3 separate regions of the Homo sapiens genome follow, and regions 1 and 2 are each linked to region 3. The links are contacts of gene promoters, found by promoter capture Hi-C in human tissues and cell types (Jung and others, 2019). All regions are on one chromosome and are shown on one strand. Each heading gives the region's core, a stretch centred on a gene start or on the middle of the fragment in contact. The rest is flanking DNA. Distances are from core to core; before and after follow the strand shown.

What was found. The method cuts DNA at HindIII sites, captures the fragments that hold promoters and counts their contacts. A contact is called where the count stands out against the background at its distance.
Region 1: a contact is called between a fragment that was not itself captured here and the fragment with the promoter of S1PR3 in region 3, in 2 of the 25 tissues and cell types used here (dorsolateral prefrontal cortex and lymphoblastoid cells).
Region 2: a fragment that was not itself captured here is called in contact with the fragment with the promoter of S1PR3 in region 3 in 3 of the 25 tissues and cell types used here (dorsolateral prefrontal cortex, lymphoblastoid cells and spleen).

The regions. Positions count from the first base shown.
Region 1 is chr9:88,479,377-88,482,524 of GRCh38, reverse strand. No RefSeq gene overlaps it. Among named protein-coding and RNA genes, the nearest start is that of NXNL2, 54 kb to the left of the region's middle. The HindIII fragment of the contact is 6,311 bases long and covers 1-3,148 here.
Region 2 is chr9:88,526,527-88,529,268 of GRCh38, reverse strand. LOC105376134 (a long non-coding RNA gene) reads left to right here. Exons shown (of 2, transcript XR_007061653.1): 2 at 505-1,309. Among named protein-coding and RNA genes, the nearest start is that of NXNL2, 7.3 kb to the left of the region's middle. The HindIII fragment of the contact is 4,513 bases long and covers 1-2,742 here.
Region 3 is chr9:88,989,964-88,992,833 of GRCh38, reverse strand. It overlaps S1PR3 (sphingosine-1-phosphate receptor 3), which reads right to left and starts at 1,366. Exons shown (of 2, transcript NM_005226.4): 1 at 1,139-1,366. RefSeq lists a silencer at 1,526-1,820. The HindIII fragment of the contact is 13,055 bases long and covers 1-2,870 here.

The DNA of each region.
Region 1 (3,148 bases), core at 319-2,818, 510 kb after region 3:
GCTTATTACAATTTTTATATACGCTGGAAGATGCTAGTGTTGTTAAAAAAATGTAACAACTAAAATCTTCCTAAAAACGAACATTATATAACAAGCAAAATCGACTGTGTGGAACTGAAAGCGTAATCTCAAACATCAAAAATAAAGCCAGCCGGGCATGGTTACTCACACCTGTAATCCCAGCACTTTGGGAGGCTGAGGCGGGAGGAACACTTGAGTCCAGAAGTTTAGGATGAGTCTGAGAAACACAGTGAGACGCCTTCTATGGAAAAAAAAAGAAAGAAAGAAAGAAAGAAAAAAACAAAGCAAAACATTGTAAGGCCTTAAGTGACACCCAATGATGACAGGCCGGCAGAACAGCGGCAAGCCCTGTGCCAGGCATAGGCCTGCACTGTGCTTACTTGTCTTTGACACACTGCTCTCCCCTACAGGACTGCTCTGAAAATGACCAGTTTTGTCCTTAGTAGCATCCATCAGATTTAGATTAAATTAAGAATCTAGTGGCTACTTTAATCTAGTGGTTAAAGCTACTTTACCATAGTTATTACAGAAAAACTGGAAGTAACATTTTGTTAAAACCAGGTCCCCAATAAATAAAACAAAGAGTAAACACACTACAGGATAAAGACTGACTTTAGGAAAAAGACCTACTGCTGATGTCATTTCTCTAACAGTCATCAGACTTTTCTATGAGAAGACCAGAGGCTCACACTTGTATACACGGTGTGCAGGTGCAGGGAAGACCAAGGAAAGCAGCTATCCAATTTTTTACAAAGCCACAGAAAGACAAGTTCGAGGAAAAAGCTTTAGAGTTATTTTCACGATCTGTATCTGAAGACAATTCACAATGCTGCCACTCAACCCTGGGTTGTTAACAACTGTTACTTATGTTAACATCAAGGTTTTTTTTTTTTTTTTTTTTTTTTTTTTGAGACAGAGTCTTGTACAGACTCTGTCGTCCAGGCTGGAGTGCAGTGGCACGATGTCAACTCATTGCAACCTCTGCCTCCGGGGTTCAAGCTATTCTTCTGCCTCAGCCTCCTGAGTAGCTGGGATCACAGGCGTGCGCCACCATACCCGGCTAATTTTTTTGTATTTTTAGTAGAGATGGGGTTTCACAATTTTGGCCAGGCTGGTCTCGAACTCCTGACCTTGTGATCCATCCACCTTGGCCTCCCAAAGTCCTGAGATTACAATAGGCATGAGCCACCGCGCCCAGCCCAACATAAAGGTTTTTAAAAGGCTTTCTGTCCTTTCACATTATAATCTGCTTCAGTAATTCCAACATAGAAACAGACAATTTTAAAGTTATGTATAATCTGCTTACCCTATTAAGGATTTTAGGTAGTTTGTGTGGTATATAAAGCTCTTAACTTTCCCTCCAGAAAGCATACACTGAAAATAATGAGAAAGAGGATGGTAAAAGCAGAGCCAGGAGTAAGCCTCCTCTCTCACTGAACAGTCAACGTAAAAAAACAAATGCACAGCAAGGCCCCGCACTTGTGTGTCACCTCAGAGCTGACAGGGGCCGACGCACCACTTGGTCCAGGGCCCTCACTTGAAAATTAAGCAGAAAGAATGCCAATGTCATGTTTAGGCAAACTTATGTGCCATGACATTATTAAAAAACCGTCTGCTACTTGGTTTACCAAAACTAATCATAAGGGCAGACGAAGACTCTAGGAATGGCTGGAGAAGTAACTTAAAGACTCAATGAATTCTCTCAACTCCACATGCTGCCTAAAACTTACCAGTATATGACACAGAACAAACTCATTACTATAAAAATTAAACATAAGATTGTAGGTTATGAGCAAAAGAAATCTAGGCTTTTTAAGTCTCCTGTATGGTTAAAAAAATTAGGTTTATGAAGATATTACTTTCATGATATATTCAAAGTGTCTTTAAAATATAGTTATCTGGCTGGGTGCCGTGACTCACGCCTATAATCTCAGCACTTTGGGAGGCTGAGAAGGGTGGATGGCTTGAGCCCAGGAGTTCGAGACCAGCCTTGGCAACATGGTTGAAACCCTGTCTCTACCAAAAATACAAAAATTAGCCAGTCTCATAACCCAGTCTCAAAATAAATAAGCAAATGAATAGATTTAAAAGTTAAAATAAAGTATCTATATTCTTGTGATGAAAAGTTATTAAAATTTCTTCAGCATACTTTCTCTCCAAAAAAGACATCATTATTTTTATTTTTTTAGTTATGGAAAAAAAATTTTTTTAAGTTCCGGGATACATGTGCAGAATGTGCAGGTTTGTTACATAAGTATATGCGTGCCATCGTGGAGACATCATTTATTTTTTAAGCACAAAAATAATTTTGGGTTATAATTCTTAGCATACAGAGACACAGATGCCTACATTCTAATGACTAATATAAAACCTTTTATTTGGCAATTTGGAAATAAACACTTTTTAGATATTAACTTATGAAATAAGGTTACAGAAAATTATTCATAGAAAATATTACACTATAGATAGATTACTCAAATCACTCCAATGAAGTAATTTAATTGAGGTGTTCATAAAGCAGCTCAGAGTCTGGGCACAAAATAGAGATCCGAGTCTTCATTCCCCTATAATCCTGCGTGAGATACTCAATCTCTGCCTCTTCCTCAAAAGACCATTAAGAACTAAACAAAATAGTGTGGAAAGTGCTTGGCAAGGTACTTATTAAGCATTTATGAATGCTTTATTAGTACCAAATGCTTTTGTCATCACAGAGTTTAATTGTACCAAGAGAAAAAACAAAAATTCTCCAACAGAGTGATGACTGCTTTAAATAGGAGAGTTGATTCATTAGTTTACAAATACTAGTTATCAAGTTTCAAACTTCAGACTAAACTTGCATTGTTATACTTTTGGGGCAATATTTACAGAGCTGTACCCATGACAGATAACACAGACAACGAATAATCTACCTTCAGCAAGGAAGGTCAGAAAACCCAGACTCAAGAGAGGCACCTGTGCTTCCCAATGGCTCATTTCCTCCTTGAACTGCAGCCTTCTTCCACCTAAGCCGGAGTAGACCCTGCCTTCAGTCCACCTCAGTAACCTCCATGGACTTGGAGCACAGGCACTGCACTGACACAAACCTAGAAGCCCAGCGTCCCAAAGCCCAAGTTTGCATTCATCCCTC
Region 2 (2,742 bases), core at 131-2,630, 460 kb after region 3:
GCCGGAGAGACCCCAGTGAAGGCACCCTCAGGCCTGCCCTCCCTCCCTGAGCCCCTCTCCCCTCCCCGCTGCCCCTGATTTAAGGGTAGTCCTTTCTGCATTTCCTCCCGAGAGCACGATAATAACTCACTGCTTGACCAACTTCAGACAGACTCCTCCGGCACTTTTTTCAGCTAGGCCTCATCCTTGGACCCCGTGCTCAGCCTGCCTGAGCCAGTCTTAGCAAAGAATCCTGTTAAGTCCTCTTCTGCCTTTAGTATCCAATCATCCTGGCCTGCCTGCAGCAGGTGTCCTGTTAAGTTAGTTTAGCAAGATACCCCCCTACCGTCAAGGTCCCCTCTGTTTTCCATCTGCCAACCCCCCACCTCCACCCTGTTCCTGGGCTGTAAATCCCCACTTGTCCTTGTGTTGGGAATTGTGCTCGGCGCTTTCCTTTTGCAGTAGTGCTCAACAGAGTCTGTCTTTTTGCCTTGGATAGTGTTCAGTTCTATTTCTCATTAACAGTTATGAAGGGCTGTGACACCTTGCTTGGCTTCTAGTCTTGACATAGACTAAAAGGCAGAAGGTTTCCAGAGCTCACGCTGGATGGCTGGGCAGATGAGGTCTTCAGAGACTCTCCAGGGAGGTACGGCTCTGCCTTTCTACTCAGTATGCAAGCTCCCCAGACTTCTGAAGAGGGATGTTTCTCCTTAGAGAAAGTCTCCCTGAATGTGGGTATTTCATAAGTTCTTGGACCAGTTCTGCTCTTCTCAGTCCTGCTTTTTGTCAACATACATTGAATCACTTCTCCCTGGCAAAAGAGCAGCATGTGAAGAAAATGTGATCCTTGGTGGTTTGACATGAAATTGACTTTTTCTTCTAGCAACACTTATGAATATTCAAATACAATTATGGAAAAGATTTTTTGCACTGATCAGCATAACAAACAAATTAGACATCCCAGTGTGCAAATATAACTTTCTGAATTTCCTAGTTTTAAATATTCCAGTGGCCAGGATACCCTATCCAGAGGAAGCAGGACCGTCTCAGCTGACCAGGGCCCTTGCCTGCTAATAGCATCATGCATACCTTGTTTCTTCATGAGGCTGCTTGCCCGAGTTCCAATCCACCAGGAATTCATCTTGTATCATAGCTGATGGATCCCGTGTCTCGTTTCTAAGTTGGAGCATCACTTTGCAGCTCCCAACCAGGGCCAGCCACAAAATTTGAAAGGCCCAGTGCAAAATAAAAATGCAGAGCCCCTTGTTCAAAAAGCAGGAAAAGAATGGGCCAGCAAAGGAACTAAAATAAACGAAAGCTTTTCCCTTTCTTCCATGGTCTCTCTTTTGACCTATCATGGTGTTTTTATTTGCTACTGAATATCATGCTTTCTTGGGACAGGGTGAGTGTCAACTGTCACACTTGCCCAGGGGCCCTGCCGAGTGACTTGGTGGGTACACAGTCCACCAGCTGCTTGCATGGCCACGCCCACCCTGAGATGCCACGGGTAGTGTAGTAAAAGCATCTGATGTCAACCCCACACCCCTCCACACATACACACTCAGGTTCCCGCAGACCATGGAGGGCACCAGCGGTTGCTGGGTGAGGGTGGGGATGGGGAGGCCATGTGGGGCCCAGGACACCAAAGGGAGGGAGACGAGCAGTCAATAATGTGCCTGGGAGAGGTGGCGGACCAGCAGCAGATGGGAGCACACATGAGGCAGGCTCCAAGTGCTCACGTATGCTCCACTGTCCAATGAGGCCTCACTTACACCACACAAATTCAAAGATAAAATAAAGTTTTTTTTGTTTTGTTTTGTTTTGTTTTGTTTTGGAGACAAGAGTCTCACTCTGTCACCCAGGCTAGAGTGCAGTGGCGCAATCTTGGCTCACTGCAACTTCCACCTTCCAGGTTCAAGTGATTCTCCTGCCTCAGCCTCCCAAACAGCTGGGGCTACAGGTGTCCACCACCACACCTGGCTAATTTTTTGTATTTTTAGTAGAGATGGGGTTTCTCCATGCTGGCCAGGCTGGTCTCAAACTCCTGACCTCAAGTGATCCGCCCCCCTCGGCCTCCTAAAGTGCTGGGATTAGAGGCATGAGCCACCGTGCCCAGCCTGATAAAATAATTAAGAATGTCAAGACAGCAATCACAGAGCACTAAACCCCAAGTGCAGGGCCCTGTGCCTCTGAGGGGCTGCATGGCCACGAAGCCACCCTGCTCCAGCATTGGCAGCAGGAAATACAATCCATTCCTGGATGGAGGTTGGGTTAGTTCCTCAGGGCTGCTGTAACAAAGACAACCTGGGTGGCTCCAAACAACAGAAATGGGCTATCTCATAGTTCCAGAGGCCAGAAGTCTGACATCAGCGTGGTGCAGGGCCGTGCTCCCTCTGAAACCTTAGGAAGTCCTTGCTTGCCTCTTCCTGGCTTCTGGTGGCTGCAGCAATCTTTGGAGTTCCTTGGCTTGTGGCTGTGTCACTCCAATCCTAGGTCTTCACCGGTCTCCTTTTTATAAGAACACAGTCACATTGGGTCAGCGGCCCACCCTGCTCCAATGTGACCTAACTTTAACTATTACATCTGCAAGGATCCTGTTTCCAAATAAGGTCACATTTTGAGGTCCTGAGAGTTAGGACTTCAGAATGGCTCATCTTTGTGGGGGATGCACAACCCATAATAGAGGTGTGGAGGAAGGAGAGTTTCTTCAAGGGGCAGGACTGGGAAAGACTTTGTAAGGAGGCTGGTCCTTGAAAGAGGTGG
Region 3 (2,870 bases), core at 117-2,616:
ACAGATATGAACACTTCCACAACTCCTCAAGCGCACACACACACACACACACACATGCCCCGCACCATCACCACCTCCTCAACCAACACCAGCCCTGGGCATGGCCAGCTATCCTTGTTAGTCATGTATCTGCAGAGCATAATCCTTCCCTTGTACTTTCTAGGAATTATATTTTTCTTAACTATGCCTGCAAGATTTTCATCTATGAATAAAAAACATTGAAAAGATAAATTATGAATATGTGGTTATATACAAAGTCTGTGACTTCTAATGTCCAGATTTTAGAATGATGCCTAATTCTGGAGGTCTCAGAGGTCCAAGTGGGAGTGGGTACCATGAATGGGGGGGCCTCCATTTAAAAGTAACCTTCTAAAGAGCTCTCTGTTCCTGTAGCTCCCCTTTCCTTATTGGAAGGGTCAAAACGAAGTGTGTTCCCTTAAAAATCCAACAAGAAGTTCCTCTCTTATATCCAAATATAAAAACACCACAAAGAAATATACCATTGGGAGTGTCCAAAGCCAGAAAGTCAGAGGAAGAGAGAGAGAGAGAGAGAGAGAGAGACTGACTATTGGGAGACTCAAAAAGCCCAAAGCCCCTTCTCTAGCTGTTATCTCAGTTACGAACACAACGTACTGATTTTCCGTGGGAACCTCATTATTGCACTGTGGGGACTTCGTCTTCCAGCACCGATTCTGACGGCCCTAATTGCCTTGTTTGAGAAATGTTAGGAAAAAACTAATTTTCCGGCGAATATTGTTTAAAAGAATGATTTTCCCAGGCTAACGACCACAACCCTCTCCCACGTCCAGCATCCCCAGGCCCTGGCACTGTGGAAGCCTAACTTGTTAATTGTCCAAGGAAAACGACTGATGGAACTTCTCCACGAACAGCCTCTCCACTTTCATCCAGGTATTCAGCTCCAGCCCGTTGTAAACGCTCCGGGTGCGGTGGAAAAGGCCTCCTCCCTGTTCCTGCAGCGGCTCTGGGGGAGGGGTGCTGATGTGGAGCGCTCCGGCCGCCGTGGCGCGCCCAAGTCCCCGTCGCGCCCGGGATCGGTGGGGATTTTGTTGGAAAGGTGGGTCCTTCGGCCCCCAGCCCCCCACCCTGGTTCCGCGCCCCGCCCGGGCCCGCCTCTCACCTCCGTCGGCTGAGGGCGCTGGGGCCACCGGCATCCTAGCGGGTGGCGCGCGGCGGTGCCGGGGCGCCCGGTCCTGCGCTCGAATGCCAGATGGGCTGGGAGGCCCGGCAGTCTCAGCGCTCGCGACGTCGTTCCCGGGCCTGGGGTCCTGCTCGGTCGCGTCCTGCAGCCGCCTTCTGGTCCCTGAGTCCCTGTTGCCCGTCCCCGGAACCGGCTTCCTCGGCCTCTGCCCGAGCGAGTCAGAGACTAAACTTTTCCAGCGGCCCGCCGGGGCGGGACCCGCGCTCCGCCCCTCCCCTCGCCGCCCCCGACTCCCGCCCCTCTCCCCGCCCCCCTCTCCCCGTCCCCCGCCCGCGAACCCGGCACTCCTCCAGCTCCCCACCTCCCGCTCAAGCCGCCTGGTCTCCGTGCGCCCCGCCCGCCCCTAGCCTGGACCCCTTCTCCCCGACCCTACCAATCCCCTAGGGTCCGGCTCGCCCTTCGGCCCCTGTTCCCAGGCCGGCCTCCAGACCTTGTCCTCATCGGGCGAGCTCCAGGTGCAGAAACCGGGCGCCCAGAGACCCAGCGGGAACAGGCTTGGAACCAGGTCCGAGGTCTGGGCTTGGGCGGGCGCCTGTCGCCCTGACAGCGAGGGTTTGTTTGGGCCGATTCTTAATAGGAGGATTAATACTATCATTATCGTTGTCCAGATCCTGACCATTTCTTTTGTAACTGGCCGAGCACCGGCTTGGGCTTGCAGGTGGGCGCCTGGCGCCGGACAGCGTTTTTGTTTGGGCTTCTTCCTTTTCCGCGCGGGTCCCCTCCGGCGCCTGCCTGGTCCCTCTCCGCGCTCTACCCCCAGGCACGCAGAGACTTGGGCTCCAGGCGGGGGCAGCACTCTCCCCCAGCCTCTGCTGGTGCACCAGAGCCCACTCCGGCACAGAGCAGCGCCCCTCCTAGACCGGCAGCCAGCAGATCTCAGCCGACCCCCATGCGACCCCCTTCCTCACGCGGATTTGCCCCTTTTGTGTGGCAAAAATAATAATAATAATAATAAATCCATATGAAGGCTTCAAACAGAATTCCGAGAGAAGGAACTGCCAAATTTTCAATCAATGCCAAAGGCCATGATTGAGCGAACACAGAAACAACTGTAGAAGCTTGGGGAGAAAGGAGAAAATTAAAGAAAAAGGAGGAGGAGGAAAAGGAGAGAGGAGAGAAGCGGGAGGAAGAAGACGAAAAAGCAAGGAGAGGCCTGTTATCCGACCGTGCATTCCTGGGCCGGCAGGATTGGGCCGCAGGGGCCGCTGCAGAGAGTTGAGTTTGTGCAAAGGCCGCTCGTTACTTTCTGTCTTTTGCCCTCTTGCCTCCAGAGGATCAGCCCAGCGCATCCTTCTCTTGGAGCAGGGTGCATACGCTTATTTGGGGTGCAGTTTGAGCGGTGAAGGGCACCAAGAGTGGAAGTCGGCGGCACTCCTGTTCCCTGCAGAGAAACGCAAGCCCTCAGCAATTGAGCTGAAGGAGGCAAGTGACTCTGCCTGCTGAGGCTGCCAGCCCTAGAGGCTCTGGCCCCCGGGAGCTGGGGTACTTCCCAGCGTTTTCGCCTAAGCCACTTCGCCTGTGCTACTGTGGAGTCTTCCGGCACTGTAGCCTTCCAACTTGTTCAAAGTGCCTGGTGCACGGCTCTGAGAAGCCACTTCTGTCCCAAGTTTCATGTGGGCCTGAATGTGCTTCCCTTTGTTGGACTCCTACA